Linked DNA regions of Homo sapiens: regions 1, 2, 3 and 5 are each linked to region 4. Evidence: promoter capture Hi-C in human tissues and cell types (Jung and others, 2019). All regions are on one chromosome and are shown on one strand. Each heading gives the region's core, a stretch centred on a gene start or on the middle of the fragment in contact. The rest is flanking DNA. Distances are from core to core; before and after follow the strand shown. Region 1 has its middle 670 kb from the start of EDIL3. Region 2 has its middle 1.0 Mb from the start of EDIL3. Region 3 has its middle 61 kb from the start of LINC02144. Region 4 holds the start of COX7C (cytochrome c oxidase subunit 7C). Region 5 has its middle 480 kb from the start of EDIL3.

Evidence for each region. Contacts are between HindIII fragments. The study calls those that stand out against the background at their distance.
Region 1: a fragment that was not itself captured here is called in contact with the fragment with the promoter of COX7C in region 4 in 1 of the 25 tissues and cell types used here (dorsolateral prefrontal cortex).
Region 2: a fragment that was not itself captured here is called in contact with the fragment with the promoter of COX7C in region 4 in 1 of the 25 tissues and cell types used here (mesenchymal stem cells).
Region 3: a contact is called between a fragment that was not itself captured here and the fragment with the promoter of COX7C in region 4, in 1 of the 25 tissues and cell types used here (spleen).
Region 5: a contact is called between a fragment that was not itself captured here and the fragment with the promoter of COX7C in region 4, in 1 of the 25 tissues and cell types used here (dorsolateral prefrontal cortex).

What each region holds. Positions count from the first base shown.
Region 1 is chr5:85,051,739-85,055,820 of GRCh38, reverse strand. No RefSeq gene overlaps it. Among named protein-coding and RNA genes, the nearest start is that of EDIL3, 670 kb to the right of the region's middle. The HindIII fragment of the contact is 3,308 bases long and covers 416-3,723 here.
Region 2 is chr5:85,386,817-85,391,327 of GRCh38, reverse strand. No RefSeq gene overlaps it. Among named protein-coding and RNA genes, the nearest start is that of EDIL3, 1.0 Mb to the right of the region's middle. The HindIII fragment of the contact is 6,189 bases long and covers 1-4,511 here.
Region 3 is chr5:87,792,168-87,796,696 of GRCh38, reverse strand. No RefSeq gene overlaps it. Among named protein-coding and RNA genes, the nearest start is that of LINC02144, 61 kb to the right of the region's middle. The HindIII fragment of the contact is 7,725 bases long and covers 1-4,529 here.
Region 4 is chr5:86,616,613-86,621,066 of GRCh38, reverse strand. It overlaps COX7C (cytochrome c oxidase subunit 7C), which reads right to left and starts at 3,126. Exons shown (of 3, transcript NM_001867.3): 1 at 2,937-3,126; 2 at 1,571-1,714; 3 at 105-399. The coding sequence starts at 3,011. The coding sequence ends at 1,598. It overlaps SNORD138 (small nucleolar RNA, C/D box 138), which reads right to left and starts at 561; the gene lies at 499-561. RefSeq lists enhancers at 2,036-2,701, 2,999-3,088, 3,021-3,315, 2,702-3,367, 3,379-3,458. The HindIII fragment of the contact is 7,958 bases long and covers 1-4,454 here.
Region 5 is chr5:84,861,356-84,865,595 of GRCh38, reverse strand. No RefSeq gene overlaps it. Among named protein-coding and RNA genes, the nearest start is that of EDIL3, 480 kb to the right of the region's middle. The HindIII fragment of the contact is 3,977 bases long and covers 1-3,736 here.

The sequences.
Region 1 (4,082 bases), core at 820-3,319, 1.6 Mb after region 4:
AGACATTGAATTTAGATATTTTATACAATATGACAGTTATATAAGAATTTTTAAAAAGTAGGCAGCATATAAAATTAGCTTTTTAAAGATTATTTGTTTTACCCTTAGGGTAGCTTCCTTCTCTTTTACTTAATAGACACCACTAAGCTCTGCCATTTTAGTGTGTGCTCAGTGAATTAAAATCTTTCAGTATTTTCTAGACAAAATATGGTTAAGTTGACAACTTTGTAGCAAAAAATGTTGCGTTCTCAAAATTAATATACAATGTTTTGGCTTTTCTATGTTGTTCTGCATTTGCTAAAATTTTATTTTTATTTCACAGACACATATTTTTGAGAATTAAAAGTTCTGCAGATATAGCAACAATCCAACAAGCAAAATTCATCAGTTCAGACAGAAATAACAAATAGCTTTATGTGGCCATCATGTATGGAAAAGAGCATCAAGTGAGGATTACTAATTTTTAGAGGCATACAGACTGATTTTCAATTGGAGAATTTGATATTAAAATCATAAAATCAGTAAAAAATATACATAAATATAATAACTAAAACATTAATATGTTCAATGCCAACTGCTTTTTTTAAATCTAGGATTTTTTACACTTACGTAGTTTATTCTATCTTTGCAACAAATTAGGGCAGCAAACATTCAAATTACCTCTTTTGAATTCTGGTGCTATTTCAATATTTTCAAAATAAAATTTTCAATAACACAAAATCAATTTTACATTTTAAAAACTTGAAAATATTGCTGTGCTAGAGTAAAATGAATATGTAAAGTGAAAGAAAGAATATTCTTTTCTGGAAAGAAACCAAGTACAATATCAGCATTGTCCCAGTGGTACTTATAAACAGAAATAGAATATGTTTTTGAGTGGCATCCTTAGCCAGGGGAACACTTCATGATCAAGTAAGAAAAAGCAAGCATTAGATTTATTTTTAAAATATAAGCTCTGTAAATATAATTCTCTTATCTGCTGGAAGGAAAAGAAAATTGTTGTATTGTCAGATCTCAAAACTGGGCTTTCTGAATATATATTCCCTTCCATTTCTTACCCCACATAAATTATACTAACATTTTATAATCACTTTCATTTTATAAGACACTAGTTTGATTAACATGCTCTGGCCACAGCTGCAAATACTGGAAGCTTCATAGCGCTATTAGAATAACATACCAGGGTTCCTGAGTTATATACTTGAGATAATTAAATCTAACAGTATATGAGCTTGATGGTCATTGAAATATATGAACTAAAGCTGTCCAGTGTTGAATTGCAGTATCCAATTTCAATAGGACATTTTATTTCTTTATTTTTTCAGCCAGCATTGTTCAGCATGTTTAAAAAACTTAATAGTAAATCTCTACTACAGATTTGCATTTAATTTTATACACACATTCATTGTACTTGAAAAAAAAAACATCAAGCAAAGTAGCAATACATTTTTCTTGTTTCCGGAATTTGGGAAACTTGCAAGAATTTGATGTAGGTCACATTTTGAGTTGTTCTCTTCAGTGTCTTATGCAGTTTGTATCATTAAATGCAAATAACATCTCTTGTGTCACGTCAATAACCATAAGTATTAATTAACTTTAGTCAGGTGACTTATAGAAAATAAGGTATGGCAGAGCAGCCTAATAATATTATTATAGAATTCTATCACAGGATTTTCAGCTTTTGCCTTGGGGTATAAAGATATGGAAGGAGTATCACCCCTACCCTTAAAATGAAATATGATTTTCTTAAAACTTATTGGATTGTGGAAGTTTTAGAACAATCAACTAACCAAAAAATTAAGGAAACATAGTACTGACAGGCAGAGTGGGGATGTACAAACTTGTGGCCTTTGGCTAGATTCACCTACACAGAGGTAAGAACGGCTCAGTTGAATAATTGATAAATTGCCCAAGACCAAGTGTGAGCCAGAAGAACATTTTGAAATTTTAGTGAGTCTCAAACTATGGGAGTCCATATCATCTTCCAGGTTCTTCCTGCACACTCACAGAAAAGATAGAACCTTAAGAAATACGCATTGTGATGCAAGCCTAAGAAAGAAGAATAGAAAAGTTTTATAGAAGAGGTAACAAAATCTGCCAGATTCTTCTTTCCTATCTATACTACTGAACAAAAGCCTTAAACTGTGGATGAAATGCTGTAAATACTGTACCCCCTAGGCCATTTGTGAAAACTCATGCAGCCGAGGAAAGGAAAATAAATAAAGCTTATTCCTGGAGTGGGATGAAATTATGCGTTGAGCTGAAAAGTGTAGCTGGAGAACAAAACGGCCACATTTCTGAAACCCAGAGACACATGCATACCTTAGATTTGGGCTTGATAATAACACCAAAGAAAGCACCACACTCCACCCTCAACTGCCAAGATAACATGATTTGGATAACCAGTAAAAGGAGAAAACTGCTGGTAGGGAGCAGACGGAACAAGAACAATCAAAAAGACCCACTTTGTGGCACAGTGCAGAGTAGATCTAAAACTTAAAAACAGTCATCATTCTAATAAACTAAGCTCCACCCTAAACAAAAGATAGTCCTACAGGAATTTGAAGGCTGTGGTCCATTGAGGCTAATTATAGCAACAACAAATCTACAATCCGGAATCTACAACCCAGACTAATTCCTAATTAGATGAACTCAAACATCTCCCTGCACTAAATGCCTAACAAAGGCATGTTTATTTCCAAAAATAAAAACTGTTTACCTCAATTTCCACTGTTCATACAAAATGACTAAATTTTAACATAAAAAATTACAAGATGTAAGAAGTCATGAAAAAGCACAGTCGTAAGAGACAAAGCAATCAAAACAAGAAACAAATAGGACACAGATGTTGGAATTGTCAGGGAATTCAGAATAACTATTATTAGTATGAAAAACATGCTAAAATTAGAGAACATGCCAGATCAGCTTTGTTGTGACTCCTCTCTTTCTGTGGTTGTAGAGCTTAGCTCCTTCTTGGAGTGAGGGACGTGCCTCCACAGCGCTCTTTCCCTCATCTATTTTTGGGAATCTACACAAGACTGTTACCTCTATTGAAAAGTAGGGATATGACTATTTAAAAACTGAAAATGACAGAGTTATTCTAGAATATTTAAACACTAAAAAGATGAAAAATAATGATCAAACCAAAGTTTATTTGGTGAATCCTCAGTAAGCATGAAACAATTTTCTATGAGAAACTTCAGTTCAGAGGATTGAGACACAAATTGTCATTACAGTCTTTTTTGAGGAGTGTGGGGGACTTATTAAATATATTCTGTAGTGTAAAGTGACTTTTAAGATAAAACATAGAGTAAAAATGAATATTATTTTGAAACCGCAAGGAATTATCACACGGAAATGAAGGGATAAATAAAACAGCAACAGAAATGAAGATGCTTTTGATGGCTTTATCAGTAGACTTAGCACAGAGAAGAAATGAATATGTAAGCTTAAACATAGGTCTATAGAAATTACCTAAAAATAAGTATAAATAGATAAAAAGTTACAAAAGCAGAGTATCAAAAATTTGGGGAACAATATCGAATCTTGTATCACAAGTGTAATTATACCCCCAAAAAGAAAAGAGAAAAAAAAAAACTAGACAAAGAAATATTTGAAGATACTTTGATATTTTTCCAAAATTAATAATAGGAAAATTTGTAGTTCTACGCAATTCAGAGAATATCATGCAGAATAAAAAATATAAATCAAAACAAAATAATAAGAACAAAAATGTAATTATATTTAAACTACTGAAAATATGAGATAACACAAAAATCATTAAGGCAGTTAGAGAAAAACAGAAACATTAAATTTTAATGATCACACATAAGAATCAGAGGAGACTTTGTGTCTAGATCACATAAGGTAAATAATAGTGCAGTGACACCTCTAATGTAATGAGGAAAAAGGAAAAGAAAAGAAAAACTCGAATTCCATACACAGTGAAAATATCTTTTCAAAATAAAGATGAAAAACAGACTTTCTCAAGCAAAAGCTTAAGGATATTGTCGACACTAGATAAACTCTGTAGGAAATTTTAAAAAATATTTATTCACAAAGAATACGATAGCAGTTTAGGA
Region 2 (4,511 bases), core at 1,579-4,078, 1.2 Mb after region 4:
ATGCAGGCTGAGAGTATTAAATCTGCCAATAATTTACATAGCTTCTTGGAAAGAATGTAATTAGAATAAAATTTTGCAGCTAAATAGAAAGCTGTTACACCAAGAAATATTAATTAAAATAGTGGCAATCTATCTTAAGAGACATTTTTTGAATTAGCTACTGAATTAAGAGTTTAAAATACAACAAAGTGGTGTATATATATATATATATATATATATATATAAATACACACACATATATATTTGATAACAAGTATTTATTAGTATTTATTTGCTTTTCAGTTATATCACAGAAGTTATTCTTTCTCTGTCTCTAAATCTGTCTATCTAGAGAGAATAACTTATGTGATGTAACTGAAAAGAAAATAAATTCTAATAAAGTGATACTATATTGTGGTTCTGCTTGTGGCAAAATTGGAGCAGACATAGGCACAAGTCAATTTAGATCAGTATGACATGATTCCCCTCTTAGTGGAACAAGCCAGTATAAAGAATATTGCAGCTGAGATGAGAGATTACAGGGTTAAGTAAATCAGTGTTCCTCCTAGCCATGCAGGAAAAGTTAAGATTTGACTAAGCATAAGTTTTTAATAAGCCCTGAGGTGAGCTTTAACTTCATGTTGAACTCTAGAAAGAGGTTCAAGTGTATAATTATTAGATGTTCAGAAATGTTGCCAATGGCATTAAGGGCCCAATTATGCTGTTGGGCAGTTTCTTATTTGCTGCTAACTTATCTAAAAGTTCACCTATTTTAGCTCTAACATGCTTTTATCATTTTGTCCATTGTGAGGTTTGGGGAAAAACAAACGAAAACAACGACCAGAATGTGTATGCGTGCCTCTGTGTGTGTGTGTGTCTGTATGTGTGTGTGTACATCTGCATTCCTCTGTGTGTCTGTGTGTGTGTGTGTGTGTACACATCTGTGTGTGCTTGTACAATTGGTTCTGAGTACATTTTCCTAACTCAGAATCTTAGATTGATTTTACGTAACCAACGATTCATTTGGAGTCCTCTTGGATCCTAGCAATATTAAAATATAAATGCTTCAGACATAACTGAATATGCATTTTTCAGATTTCCAAAGATACTATGTTTCATTTGGTTCTGAACTAGTCCCAGAGTAAATGCACTTGCATTCTCTCACACAAAGTTGTAATACTAAAATGCATAGAGTGAAACATCTGACTTAACACAGCCCTGCCTTTTACTTTCCCACAGATATAGTTTCATACATAGACAAAACTTATAGTCACTTATGTGTTATAATTTATAGATTCCCAAAACATCTCACATTAAAATATACAGTACTGTCCAATGGATTTTCAAGATGCCTAAAATTTATGTGATTATTATTGTTTTTCTAAGTTTGAAAAATGTAAAATATCATCTATGCCACTACCATTTCCATCCTATCAAGCACAGTGTTTTGAATATCTTAAACAAATAGTATAAATGTGCTGACTGAATGAAAATATTATATATTTTAGTTCCTAAACCCAGCACTTTATGTCTCTGTCAACTGTGTATTCCATAATTTCATCTCAGTCATTGGTAAAAATGTACAAATGTGAATCCCCAATGCATTAGAACAGATTGTTGTGTCAAGAGAAGATCAAGTTGAAATTTTAAGACAAATGTTCTCTCTCATTTTGGGTGGGAGAAAAGACTAGACAAATCTAGAAATTGGCTGTTATGGAAGAACTGGACCAAATATAGGGCCCTAAGAAGTCAAGAGTGGGGAGTGGAAGGGACCTTGAGAAATTTTTTTTCATTTTTACTTATTGTCAGTGATGTATTTCTACATCTCATGCAAAATGTGAAAATGTATGACTTAGGAGACACCATGAACCAAGTCGTCTCCTATGATATAGTTAATATTATTTATATAGACTTGTTGGCATGTAAACAAACCCATTGATAAACAGTTCCAAGTACTATAGATCATCAATTACTTTTGACTGACAGGTTACTATTTTCCTTAAGATCTGTGAAAATATGAGTGGAAATTTCCTCCCAGAAGGAAGCTATCCAATAGGTAGCTGTATTTCCACTTACTTTACTGTTTGTTTTTATCCTTGAAATGCATTACTTTTGCTAATATAAATATCATTCTGTAAACTGACACTTTCATGCAGGCTTTTTAAATGTGCTGAATTTATAACTATTATTAGTGGAAGACAATACATAATTATCCAACTTCATACTACAACACATTCTGAAAGCTTTCGGAAAGATTGGAACATATTCAAATTACAGTTTACATCAACATAAGTCAACCATTCATGTATTTTCATTCTAGCTTAAAGCAAGCTGGCAGACCTAGCAGGAACCTTACTCCAAGTCACAAACAACTTAATTTGCAGGCCAAAGAAAATCTCTATATCAGTAGGGAACTCTGTTGCAATGACTTGGCATGGTTAACTAAATTCACAAGAGAAAATATGTACAAAGGTTTAAAGATTACATTCAAATGAAATTTTTTGTGCCAGTTGAATCGGATCATTACACTAGAACTGAGACACAATAAGTATTTTCAAATTAACCTAACCGTATTACAGATTCAAATAAAGTATCACATTACCACAGCCCAATATTCCTCCAGTCACTACTTAATGTTTAATTTCTAATTTCTCCTGTGGGTTTTCAATGTTCTACCTAATGTACTGTTCTTCCTTCACTAATATTAAACTTGGTTAAGAGATTCGCTAATAGTGATTCAGTTAGTTCCAGTTAAATTGATTTAAATAAAATATAAATGCTGTGACATAGAAAATAATGTAATTGATACTTAGAAAAATAAAAATGTATACAAATTGCTAATACAAGAAAAATGATATGATATAGTTTGGGGTCTGCTCATGATCAATTTTATGGTATTTGGGAATCATCAAATTTAGCTGAGTTTATTTATGTATTTGGAAAATTAGGAAGAATGGGCTTGCTACTCAAGTATTGTCCTTAGATCAGTAATATTATCATTTGGAATTGTGACAGGAAGATTATCTTAGATCCTCTACTCCAGGCCTACTGAGTCAGATCTGCATTTAAACAAAATATCAGGTGAGCTGACTGTTCATTGACTTTTGAGAAAATCTTGACCTAGAAGGCTTCAATCACTTTTATTTTTATCACTTTTATCTGTTTCTCTGTCTCTTGGTCCCAATCACAGGTCTTATCTGAAAAGTAGAATAATTATCATAGCTGGGGTTTCTTCTAATAAAAACAATGATAAATGTAAGTTCTATTTATTGCCCTTTTATGAAGTTGTCTGTAGAAGACAGAATAATAACAAACAATTAATGTATTTCCATTATAACATTAAAATGGCTTTAAAATTTGGAAATTTGGTCAGTACTTATTTCAACTAGTTATAATTTGATATGCATTATATAAAGATCTGATAACTATTTCTAGGAACATACTTTTTCTTTATAGCATTCTAATTTTGCAGCATGGAATATGTGGCAAATAGGAAGTAGGATATACTTTATTAATTATTATTTAACAATTAATTTTGCACAAATTGGTTGAAAAATACATAAATATAAATGTTAAATACACAAATTAAATAATTAAACTAGAATATAGTGGTTCTATCATTGCAGTGATTCTTGTTTACTTTTCTGTAACTACTTACAGATGAACATACACTGACACTCACATTCCTATGTATATATGGTCACTTAATATTTAGCCTACAAATTAAATTCAAATTTATATTTTCTGTTTCCCAATCATATATTTGAAAATGGTACACATGACACAAATTCTTAAGGACATTAAAAAATCTCATATTAAGAACAAAGCTTTATGTTAATTTTATATTTCACATATGCTAATAATATTTATTTTTCTTGTTTAAATATATATTCAGATATCACAAAGAATATTTTTCTTATATAACTTTCCAGGCTATTCAGCAATTCTTAATTATAAGAACTGAGTATTAAAATAGCTTTACTTATTAAAGATATTTTAACATCTTTAATGGGTTCAATGCTGTTTCTTTTTTTTAATTTTAAAATTATCTACAAAGTAAACTTTTGCCCATGTGGAGAATTACCTGGGAATAGATAACATGATGCATATTTAGTTTTAAATGGGTGTTGTTGACATTTGTAACAGAAAATATCAAATGCGGTAACACTATCTTGAATTATTCTGAATTATCAATCATCCATGCCAATTAGGTAATGACTTCCTATTAAGATTAATGGAAATTGAATGTAAATCTCCATGAATAAAACTCAGGCTATACAAATATCCCAATTACTTAGGGCTTAAGTGTCTGTGATACTCCTCCTTTAAAGAAGGCAAACGTGTTTACTAGAAGCCCTTGGCTAATAATAAAGCAAATTTTAAAGTAGTGCTTAATGGATATGGTCAGAAAAAAAGTCCTGAATTCAGGAAAACAAGCTAGTTGTTAGACTTTAAAGCTTCTGGAATCAGTGTTGCATCCTGCCATCCCTAGAAGGTCACATTTTAACTGAGTGTGTTTTAGCAAAATCATC
Region 3 (4,529 bases), core at 598-3,097, 1.2 Mb before region 4:
CTGATTGACATAACTTGCTCTGAACTAGCCCAGGATAAAGAGTGATGGATGCAAACTTAGGTTCAGATGGCATTCCTAGCTATAGAGAATCAGGTCTTATTAGTATTTAGTCAATACAAATTGTTTGAGCCATTAATAGCTTAAGCTCTCGCCTTTTGGTCTAAGAATTTTCTGTATCACATAAAATTGCTCTGCTGTGCTTAAAAAAAATTATCTTACCTGAAAAAATATTTGACATCCGTAATTTTACTGCTAAGGTCCAGATTGGATGAAATGCAAACTTTATTTGAAAACCAGAAGATATAAAATTGTCCTTTTTATGTGTTGTAATTGGAAGCATTCATTAGATAGCACGAATAAACCAGAATCATAGAACTGCAGAAATAGGTTTTGTTTTCAAACAGAAATAATAATGTCCATCATTTCTGTTGTTGGCAATTATAAGCAGAAAAAGTTGTCTGTCTATTGATCATTTCAATAGAACACAAAGTAATGGTTACACTATTCATATACTGTCAAGAAACAGGCCTTTCATAAGAAACATCTTTTTCATTCTTGCTACATACCCCAGATATGAACCAGGTATTAATGGGAAATATCATTCTACATTATGCAGATGGTAAATGTTTCTCCAGAAAAGCACTAGTTTGATGTAAATTGCTCCCAAATGTCCAGGTGGTTAAAGTTATTATTGGTAACATAATCAATGATTGGCATATAAAGATGTGTTTTGTATCTCATTTCTTTAAAAAATAGCATCTACTTTTTAATAACCACTTTATATATTCAGACATGGAGGCATAAAGAGACAAAAAGCCAGTATTTGTAATGCTCAGAACTGCTTCAACAATTTTAGAAGTACAGACAAGATAATTGGGAATAAATTTCAAATCCACATATATGATTATGGTACTGGAATTATTCTTTTAAGACAGCCAGTTGACTTTTGCACATTAGGGTTCTTGCTACCACTCTGTTACTTTGTTGAGGCAGAGGTGGGATCAGAGTTTTCTAAGCTCTAAGTTTACTAACCTCTTACGTGTAGCTCTAATAAAAGCACAAGCCGCTACCAGCTTACCATCGAAGTAAGTACAGGCGGTCACCACCAGGATAACAATAGCAATAGCCAAACATGGCAGCCTTGGATGGCCTGAACTTAGCACTAGAGCTTTACCTGGACCAGGTTAGCCATGGGTGGACATTGACTCAGACACAAACCTGGAAACTATCTTCTCTGAGGATGTGGCACTGACCCAGATTTTCTCTGAAGTGACAACGGTTCTCTATTAATGACAGGAGCCCCGAATGGGGAATTCCACAGCAGGTGAGCATGGTACTAAAGAACAGGCAGGAGAAGTGTGCTGGGGAACTCTGAATCTTGGCATTTATCCTGGAAGTGTATACAGTCCATTTGCATAAGTAGATCACAACAATTATTCAAAGACTAACTTCAGTGCCAGGGAGCACTCATGAGAGCAAGGAAGAGTCTCATTCTGGGAGACCCATGCTATGGGCAATGATGGAAATAGTTGCCCAGACAGACAAAATAAGGCAGAAGTCACTTGGCCAAACTGAAGTAGAAGATCAGAACTGGGAGGGGTGAGTATGAGTGACTTCCAAGGGTGGTAGGCTAAAACATCACAAATCCAGTCCTCTCTCTGCCTCCTGGTTCAGATTGGCCTTCACAGCTAGACCAGGAAGAGTGGACACAATCAAATGACTCTCTCCTGAGAGAGGAAGGATTCAGAGTCTAGGAGTATGAAAAATACGCTCTGAATCACCCTGAGGGTGAGAAAGGAAAGATTTATCACCAGCTGAGTCTGCAAAAAGACTGTCTTGTTTCCAATTGACATCTCTTAATGGAGTCCCTTATAGACTAGGCAAGTTTCACTTCAGAGGAAATATTAATGGCAGACAAGGCCTCCAATAAAGTTCTCTAGCATTTTATGCAAAACTAATTTCACTAGTCATAAGGGGTAATTAAGAGGAAAAGCAAATGAAAGGATCTCTGCTCTGCAGAAATGTTAAATCTAATGCCTATGAAGAAAACAAGACTGAGGTCTCCTCCACGTGGAAGAAGTCAAGAGATAATCATAGATGTTAGATATTGGAGCTGAAAATCTCTTACTGTGCCCAATAATGACTTCGGGATTATAGTGTCAGAAGGATAGTCCAACTTAGGACTCTAAGAAGCAACCCAAAACTATGTATAATACAACAAGCCATATTTTAATACAGCCATGCTTAGCAGTTGCTAAACTATTGTAAAAACAAACAAACAAAATAAATCAAATTAATAAGGAAAAAGTAAAGGAAACCAAAAGCGGGGAGGTGGGATTGTAAGACCAGATCTATGAGAAGCATAGGAAACTGTTCTCTATACAACTAGCAGAAGAAACCAGAGAAAGTGGGTAACGTGTCATCTGCCAGCTCCAGGTAACTGCCCTGTATGCTTTTCTCAGGATAAGTCCAATATCCTAAGGAAAATATGTCTCTATATTCCCACTGTTTATTCTCTATTTTTTCTTAATCATTGAGTAAATGTGCCTGTTATTTTAGCATTTTAGGAAAGCAAAGATATATTCTAGTTTGTAAAGATAAGATCTAACTTATTTTGCTGTTGAACATTTTCTCAAACAACCCAGCATTCTTTTTCTAAGCTGAATGTGTCACAGTAATCTATAAATTGCAGTAATCAGAAATGGAGTTTTATAGGGGTATTTTTTCCGAGCCATTAAAAATATTCAGCATTAGATTCTTATTCAAGGCAAAAGAGAATAAAACGACCCAAGAGGCTGCAGCCAAATTTGGAGGAGGAACTCACTAAAAAATCTTTTGGTTAAGCAAAGCTTGGAAGAACTAATTTCTAAACCATGACATAATATACAAATAAAATACTATATACTAACTATACAGTGAAGGAATAATCTCAAATAATAATTCAGAGCAGCAAAAATTAAAGACAATGATTTTTCCTGACAGAGAAAACCAGTGATTGAGAATCTATAGCCAATCATAAAAATCTTCAGTAATGTACTATTATAAATAAGAAAAAAATCAGTTGACCATACAAAAAAGAGATACATTCATCAATCAGAGAGGAATGAAGTTTCCAGCATGTGTTTAATACAGTTTCTCATGGTCATGATGCTTATGATTTCACTTTGGGCATCCTCCAGAAATTCAAGGGAGTAGATATTTCTGAAACTTAAGAAATTATATCTGACTAACACTCTGAGAAGATACCATTGCTGAATTAAGACACAGAAACCTGAATTCATTTTAATCTTTTCTACTGAAATAATTAGTTCATAATGGCAAGACATACTGAGTTATGCACAAAGATTCTAGAGTACACCTACCTATATTGCTCAGCATGACTAGAAATGACCACATACTAAGTGTATCAGGTTGCCACTTCACTGTGATAAATTGCACTGACAAAACAGTAGCAGAATTTTCAAAAGGGAAAAATGTATTTCATAAATATATGGTATTTATTAACAATAGAGAAATTTAACTTTAAAAGAAAATCAGAAACTCAAAATTTGGCACATATATAATTATCCATAACTGAACATGTTATTGAATTTTTAAAGAAAATACTTATGTAAAACAACTGTTCTTAAAATCATCTGGTGACTGATCTTATTAGTTTACTTTTAGATGTAAATCCCTGATCAAGGGAAAAGTTTTTTTTCCAGCCCTTTGAAAACACTTAAGCACTGGTGTATATAATTACTTTAAAAACAAAATTTTAAATTTGGGTGCATGTATATTGATACATTAACTATTGTTCATATTATTATATTCTAAATTTGTGTGTTTTTAGACCCAATATTTTCCTGTAATTTGAACTTGCCTAGATTAAAAATAGAATTCAAGTGTGATGATTCAGTGTTATCAAAAAGATGTTAAATATTAGTCTGTATATTAAGATTTATCTTACATTTTACATATTGTGCATATAAACAAAGAGGCCTTGTTACTCAGACCCTATATCCAAAGGGACTGTGACCATGAAGTATACATTTTTAAGTTGTATTCCACGGAGAGGTGCAAGAGCCTGTGATCTTGTTAAAGGACAGGAAGATATTTGAGATATGACTATAGGGTGGTGTGACTGATTATTTTAATTAATATAACCTAACAGTCATCAAAATCAAATGCTTCAAAGGGGTCATCTTGCCAAATATTAAGTACTTGTTTTCTGATGCTACTATTGCTCTAACCAGCATTAAATGTCCTCTTTTGATAATTGCCTTTAGAAGCCACTGCTCACTCTTTCGAACATTTTTTATAATGGAAAATCTTTGTCCAATAAAGGAAGATCTGGCTTTGGGAAACTGATACAGAGTTAAGTCTGCTGAACATAGATATTTCTGCTCTGGATTTAAAAATGAAACATATAAAATAAGAATATTTTTCTAGCAGCTAATAAACGCCCTTTGAAGGCTATTCCAAAAGAAGAATTTGACAGATGTTTTAAGCATTGGAGAGGGAGGAGTCCAGTGGCTTCAATGAAACAC
Region 4 (4,454 bases), core at 1,877-4,376:
TTAATCAATCATGGGAAAAAAAATTTACTATGTCAAAGGGCAAGAGCAAAAGTATTTTTTCCAAGTTAACGATAAAAAAAAAAATCATAGAAATAAACCTAAGATCGATTTGTATTTCCCTTTTATTATATAAATTACCAACAAAATCCTGACCTGGGAATCAAAAATTTAATATAACCTCAGTTTAACACCATTAAATAAGCTAAATCACAGAGAGTAATACTGGAATGTTACCCAAATAATAAAGTAGGCAAATGGCCAATTATTACATTCCCTATTTCAAAAAAGAGGCATTAAGCATTCACGTCATAAGTTTATTGACAAACATATCTAGTATGGCATATGAGTTCTAGTTTGATCCACTTCCAGAGGCTGCACCTCTTAAAATGCTCTTCATATCTGCAAAATAAAAACAGAAATTAATGGCATTTTAAAAATCCCATTCATTTAACAGAAATCATGTAGTTTCATGAAAATATTTTCTATCAGTTTGAGTAGTACATCAGAAAGCGTTTACAGTATCATGAATTCATTCATACTGATTTGCTTCATCACATGCACCGCAACCTTTCCGCATTAGTAGCTTGGATAAGTTATTCCCCCTCTAAACTATGACACTCTTTCCAATCATCCTAGTGTTCTATAGTATTACTCTGAGAAACTCTGATGACAATTAAGCTAAATATTTTATCCACACACAGCAAATCTGCTAACCTTCCAATATGAACGACTCCTTTGAGCATATATTAACATATCCCCTTGACACAAGGCTTCTCAACCTCAGCACCACTGGTAATTTTGCCCCCAAGTTGGAACGATCAAAAATGTCTCACATTGCCAAATGCCCCATTGTGTTGTAAAATCATCCTCATTTAAGAACCACTGCCTTAATGAGGAAAGTATATTTAAAAGTTTGAGTTTCCCAACATGGCTGAGTTGGTGAGGCACAGATTTACAATTGCATAATTATCTGGGACTTATGTATCAAGGAGCACTAGAAGGGTTTTATCTTCAGGGATTTTTCACAACTTAAACAAGTATTGTAAGCCAATTTAAAAACTAGGAGCACAGTGACCACTTTCTAAAAGAAATGGAAATGTTTATAGTGTTTTAAAAGACACATTCTCAGCTACTGTTCTAGTAACAGTGTTCAAGATAGAGTAACATTAATCAGTTTATCAGTTTTACCTGGTTAAAAGTGTGAGTTCTGCAACAAGAAACTGCCTGGGCAAGAGTCCTGGTCCACCATTATACTAGTTATGAGATGTTGAACAACTTAACATCTCTGTGTCTCAGATGGGGTTACTATCATCCGCCTCACAAGCTTGCTAGAGAACATGAGATATCGATGTAAAGTGTACCTGATAAGCAGTAGTATTCAATAAACACTGGCCATTATTGAAATATTTTTATATAGGTTTACAACTAGTCTCCACCAATGCCACATCTACACATAACCTCAGGAATCAGCCCTACACAACAATGTATTTGTGTGTGTGTTCTGGGTGATGGGGAAGAGGCTACTTAATAAAAAGGCCTGCTTTAACATGATTAGAAATCCACTAACTACCTGTTAAATGGAGGAACTGAAACATCCTTATGTTTTAAGCAGTTGGTGTCTTACTACAAGGAAGGGTGTAGCAAATGCAGATCCAAAGTACAAACACATCTTAGCTAGTAACGACCACTTGTTTTCCACTGAAAATGGCAAATTCTGTTGGAAAAAAAGAGAAAAAGTAATCGAAATTGAATCTCAAATCATCTGCTTAATAATCAAAATACAAGTATACAGGAAATGCTAGTTATATTTTACATCATCAGGTTAACATATGCCATAAATCATAACATCGTTTTAAACATTTATCTTTCAAATCCTATGACCTTCATCACAAAACACTACATGGCAAGAAATAATCTGGCTTTACTAAGCACTAGGCAATGAATGGTCTTGAGGACTCAAACGTCAAATAGTGAGAAGTTTCTTACTTTAGAAAATCGAAAAAACTACTGTCCTAAGTAGTCACCTTAGAAGATACATGGCAATGTTAAGTGCAATACAGCTCTTTTTTTTTCTTTTTTTTTTTTTTTGAGACGGAGTCCCGCTCTGTCCAGGCTGGAGTGCAGTGGCCCGATCTCGGCTCACTGCAACCTCCACCTCCCGGGTTCAAGCGATTCTCCTGCCTCAGCCTCCCGAGTAGCTGGGATTAGAGGCACACACCACCACGTCCGGCTAATTTTTTTGTACTTTTTAGTAGAGACAGGGTTTCGCCATGTTGGCCAGGCTGGTCTGGAACTCCTGACCTCAGGTGATCCGAACGCCTTAGCCTCCCGATTACAGGCGTGCGCCACCGCACCTGGCCCACAGTTTTTTTTGTTTGTTTGTTTTTCATTACCAAGCACCTTCTCTGGCCTTTATGACTAGGCCTCGTGTGACCCTCCGAGATTGTTACTGCTATGTGGTTTAAGTTATTTACACCTGAGGCCAAACCCAGCCTTAACTGAGGTGAAGGGTTAGTACTTCTAACTTAGGCAGCTAGTTTAAAAAGCCTGTTCCATAACCAGAGGCCCTGATTTCCTCATGATTTTCCAATGACCTTCATTTCGGGTCCGATGACCTCCAGCTCGGATTTAACCAACACACCTACAGCCGTGGCCTCCCGGAGCCATCTCAGGGCTTTCTGCGGGGCGGGGGAGGGGGCGTCAGGTGGCTGATGGAGGCAGGGCTTCCGGATCTACCTGCCCATTCCTTTAGCGGCTACGCGCTAGGATGCCCAGCTTCCTCACTGGTCCTTGGGCTAAGTGGAATGCTAGTCTGCGTCTCAGCCTGGTTTCTGGCTATCATCTCCCACGCCACAGCCCGGAGGCGGCCTTGCAGGTGCGCGAGTCACAGCCAAGCGCCCCCTCCCCCAACGAAGCCGTGCCCCTTACACACTAACCTTCCCAGGGCCCTCCTCATAGTGGCTCCTACGGACCACAGAGGTTGTGAACCTCCGGATGCTCTGGCCCAACATACCGCTGCTGGAAGCTCTGCGAAAGGCGCAGAGAATGAGGACAGATGAAATGGCGGCACCTCACCAAGACCTTTTTTTTCACGACCTTGTTCCCCGGTGCGCAAGGACTGAAAAGAAAGATGGGAAATGGGGCGGAGCCTTGAGGAAACGCGACAAAGCGGAAATCGCCCTGGATTGTGGGAATTGTAGTTCAGACCATTGCGGAGCCTTATCAGCCCCCGAAGGATTGTGGGAAATGTAGTTTCGCGCCAGGCTTAGGTCTAGGATTCCTGGGGCCTGTTACCGGAAACGATTTTATTGAATCAAGTGAAGCAGTTTCACCCCGTATACTCTAGTCTGTTGAAAAGGACAATAAACCCATCCCTTTTCTCTTCTTTCTTTCTTTTTTAAAAATAAAGTATATGCTAGGTGTCAATGATTTCGAGGACTTTTGCCAATGCTGAGAGATATGTGCTAATGATCCTAGCTGAAGAAACAAAGCATAAACACAAGTAATCAAACAACGTGCAGCACAAAGGACTTCAGAGAGAAAACTGAAATGCTAAGGGAATGATCACTAAAGATAATGGGAATCGAATAAAAAAGAAGGAAGAACAAAGGGCAGGGAAAACTCAAGTCTGGTATGAGTACAGCATGTGTGAGGAGTAGAAGGGAAAAGTGGCCTCTGACACCTGGAGCTAGCCTGGACTAGGAACTGGTGTCCGCCTGATGAACGTACACAATTTCAGCAAGCATTAGCATCCAACAAGACCACTCTGACAGTGTTCATTAAGAAAAGAATATGATCACTGTGTAATCACATCTGAACACAGATAAAACATTGTCCAAGCCACGAAAATGACCGGACATCACCCTATCTGGTTTAATTTGATGACTTCTGCTTCTTTACCAATTACAATCTTAGCCTTGATCTAGCCTTTCTTCCTCCTAAGATTTGGTAAGGTAGCCAATATTAGGAGAAAAAAATCCCAAATCCAATAAGCATTTTCTAATATTTTACAGAGAACCCTTACTGCAATGAATAATAAACCCCGTTTGTCAATTACATGTGTGCTTCTGGTGGTCTTTGACCAGAAGGTATTGAGAAGAAACCAGTGATAAATGAACCTGGGAAAGTGGTGTTAGGTTAGATTGTGAAAGGCCCTGGTAACCTAAATGTTATGTTATTCATCTGTGGGGGAGTGTATATTGCCTCACGTGTCTCATTTATATAGCATTAGGAAACAATTCCAATAAGACCTAAGGTTTGCTTTGAAAAGGGCATAACATATATGCTCTTTTCGTCTTTTTTTTTTTTTTTTTTTTCAGTTTTTGGAAGAGAACAACCATGCCCCTCCCCCCCAAAAAAACACTTAAAAAAAACACTTAAATTCATATTTTGTTTCAACAAGTAGCTTCTTTTTGAGTAGGGGTTCATGAAATGCATCATAACTGGTGTCCTCT
Region 5 (4,240 bases), core at 499-2,998, 1.8 Mb after region 4:
GTTCAAAGGGATTAATTTAAACAGTAAATGCTATTGCTTTGGTAACCTTGGATTTGTTTGAAGAGATTTGATGTCTCTGGAATTTTTAGTACAAAGATAACCCTATAAACATGTATAAAAATACACAGAGAATGTCTTAATATCTTTCTTTCTTCTTTTAAATGTTAATGAAATGCAGTAAAAGGAATTAAATTAGCTACAAAATGATGTCTGTTGAAATAGAATAAGCAAAATAATAACTTTGCAAAAATCAAATATTCATATAAATTATAGACCATCTATTAGCAACTTAGGTCATTGTCAGAATAAGCAAACAAAATAATAATAACAACTTTGCAAAAATCAAATATTCATATAAATTACAGACCATTTATTAGCAACTTAGGTCATTGTCAATGGTGCCCCTGGATAGACTTAATGTAAAGCCTTATATTTTCAGAAATTGTGAGGAGTGTTTTACCTGGTGATGGAGAGGGGAGAGGGTGCATCATCGCATGGACAGGAGCACATACGAAGTATAGTGACACATGCCAGCAGGTAGGTCGCAAGTTTCGGTAATGAAGCCATAGCTTCTCCCAGCGTGGAAGCTTTAGCATGATAATGAGGAAAATTCATTCAGGTTTCATCTATAAGTTGCTAGAGTCTGTTTGCAGCTAGTTCTAGCCTACTAGGTGACTGCATTCCATACAGGGTTTCGGAAAAAAACAATACTGCAAGGCAGGAATCTGTAAAATAGCCTGATTGTTCATGTTGATTAAATTCCTATAGTTCTTGGAGACTTCCCCACCCCCATGCTTCCCCCTGCTTATAATAGTAATCAAAGAGGAATTCAATAATACTTGTTAAACTGAATACATCTTTCTTATTGTCAATATTGCACACAGAGTTAGGAAATGAAGTATAATGTTTGTCTCACCTTCTGTGAGAACCTCACATATGTTTAAAATATTATTTCTCTAAAGGAGTAGCTTCAGAAATTGCACACTTGGTAACCTTTTGTTTGTATGTAAACCTTTTGGATATACGTATTCACTTTGCAAGAGTGGTGAAATACAGGAGGTATTAAAGAGAGAGAGGGCCGGGCGTGGTGGCTCATGCCTGTAATCCCAGAACTTTGGGAGGCCGAGGCACGCGGATCACGAGGTCAGATCTAGACCATCCTGGCCAACATGGTGAAACCCCGTCTGTACTAAAAATACAAAAGTTGAGACCATCCCGGCTAACACGGTGAAGCCCCATCTCTACTAAAAATGCAAAAAATTAGCCCAGCGTGGTGGCGGGCGCCTATAGTCCCAGCTGCTCAGGAGGCCGAGGCAGGAGAATGGCGTGAACCTGGCAGGCGGAGCTTGCAGTGAGCCGAAATCGCGCCGCTGCACTCCACCCTGGGCAACAGAGCGAAACTCCGTCTCAAAAAATAATAAAATAAAATAAAATAAAATAAAATAAAATAAAATAAAATAAAATAAAATAAAATAAAATAAATAAATAAATAAAAAGAAAAAGAAAATACAAAAGTTAGCTGGGCTTGGTGGCAGATGCCTGTATTCCCAGCTACTGGGGAGGCCGAGGCAGGAGAATCTCTTGAACCAGGGAGCCGGAGCTTGCAGTGATCGGAGATTGCGCCACTGCACTCCAGCCTGGCGACAGAGCGAGACTCCGTCTAAAAAAAGAGAGAGAGAGAGAGAGATTGAAGGCAGGCAGGCAGGAAGAAAGGAAAGAAGGAGGGGACGGAGGGAGGGAAAAGGAAAAAAAAAAAAGAGAGAGAGAGAGCAAGAAAGACTGGCGCAGTGGCTCACGCATGTAATCCCAGCACTTTGCGAGTCCAAGACGGGCGGATCACCTGAGGTCAGGAGTTGGAGACCACTCTGGCCAACATGGCAAAACTTCGTCTCTAGTACAACTACAAAAATTAGCTGGACGGAGCAAGGAGAATCGCTTGAACACAGGAGGCAGAGGTTGCAGTGAGCCGAGATGGTACCACTGCACTCCAGCCTGGGCGACAGAGCGAGACTCCATCTCAAAAAAAAAAAAAGAGAGAGAGAGCAAGAGAGAGGGGTGGGCAGGAGGGAAGGATGAAAGGAAAGAGAAGGAAAAAAAGAAAGCGCGAGAGAGGGAAGGGGAGGGAGGAAGGGAGGGAGGGAGGAGAGGAAGGTGAGAAAGGGAGGGAGGGGGAGGGGAAGAGGAGGGAGGGAGGAAGGAGAGGAAGGTGAGAAAGGGAGGGAGGGATGGAGGGGGGAGGGGAGGGAGGAAGGAATGGAGGAGAAGAGGAGAGGGAGGAAAGGGAGGGAGAGAGGGAGGAGAGGGTGGAAAGGGTGGGAGAGAGGGAAGAAAAGCAAAAAGAGAAAAAGGAAGAAAGAAAGATGGAGAGAGAGGGAGGGAAGGGATGGAAGAAAGGAAAGGAGAAAGAAAGAAAGGACAAAAGAGAAAAAAAAAGGGAAGGAAGGAAACTGTTTCTCTCTGCAAGAGTATGTCTTGAACACTTGGGGCAATGTCCCTCCCTTCTCCCCCACCCCCACCACTCTCATTCTTCTGATAAACACTCTACTTGATTTTTAAAAACGAGTATCTTTCATGCCACCTCTTTCAGGAAGCTTGTTTAGCTTCCCCTTCTGCAGCCTATATAAGGGGTGCTTCCTAAGTCTTCTCAGGTTCTCCAATGGACTACAAAATCCATAAGGGAAACGGCTGTATTTTTAAATTACATATCCTCATTACCAGAAACTGTGGCTGACATGGTAAATGTGTGCTCCATAATGGATTTATAAATTAAAAAAGTCGGAATTCTGACTTTCTCTCCTTGCAAACTTATTTTATTCTTCAGGGCCTAGTTTTATTTTCCTTCACAGGCAGTTTCACACTCGTGGCACTTTATATATCTATTTCTGCATTGTTCTGGTTCTAATTTATTTATGATGCAAAGTGATTATAAAGTGGCATCATTTTCTGGGGTTAATACCCAAGATTCGTTGTCTCAGAGCTGTGGAAAACTAAGATGCAGACACACAGAGTGAGGTTCAGAGCGGAGTTTAATAGGAGAAAGAAAGAAAAGCTCTCTGTGGCAGAGAGGGGTCTGGGAGAAGTGGGTTGCCAGTTCCACTGTGGAATGCAAGGAGTTTTATCGATGAGTTTGAGGAGGCAGTGTCTGATCTATATAGGGCATGAAAGATTGGTTGGGCCACGTGTGCCATTTGCATAGGGCAGGAAAAAGCGGTTAGGGCCAGGTGTGCCATTTGCATAGGGTGTGAAAATCTGGCCTCCCCGCCTTAGTCTTTTATTATGCAGATGGGTTCTCTACCTGGCCGCTGCCATGTTGCCTGTTTCTTTACTGTACACGTGGTGGCAAAGAAAAGGGAAGATGGAGCCTCCATGTTGAACATAGTTGGTTCCAAGGTAGCCCTTTTCCTTTGGCACAGCTACTGGCATTCACCGCTACAAGCTCCCAGCTTGCTTATCTATGTCTGCAGCTCAAATTTTGAGGCTGCTCTTTGTTAGAAAAGAAATTATTTAGGGGCTACTTTTTTTTAAAAGGGAAACTCTGCCGAGGACTCTTTTACCCTTACTATCTGCCTATCAATTATAATTTCTACTGAATTGGAGATCTTCATTGGTTTTTAATTTTCTTTCTTTTGCAGGTGTGTACCAGCAGCACATAGTAGGCATTCCATGTGTGCTTAAATAGAGTAAGGATGAGTAGCACAGATAACAATTGTGCATTATCAATAGCCGTTTTTCAGCTGATGAGTCTGTCCTTGTATACAATTTGCATAGAAATGGGGATTTACAGCTAATAAGCTCAGGAAAAAGTTATACTTGAGATAAAACTTTGCTTGGTGTGTGTTAAAATCTCCTGGAATGATGGGGGACTTATCTACACCTATTTGTAATCCTATCAGTTTTTTATTTTGTATCCTTTGAAATTATGTTATAAAGTGTATATAAAATTAGAATCATTAAACACTTCTGGTGAGAAATATCATTTACCCTCATATGATGTCTTAGTCCCTTTGGGTTGCTATAACAAAACATCATAAACTGGGTGGCTTATAAAAAAAACAGAAATTTATTTCTCACAGTTCTGGAATGTGGGAAGTCCAAGATAAGGCTAATTCAGTGCATGGTGAGGGTTTGCTTACTGATTCATGGAGAGCAGTTTTTTTTGCTGTGTTTCTGGATAGCAGAAGGGACAAACGAGCCCCCTTGTGCCTCTTTTTTGAGGCCACTCATTCCATTCAGGCAGGCC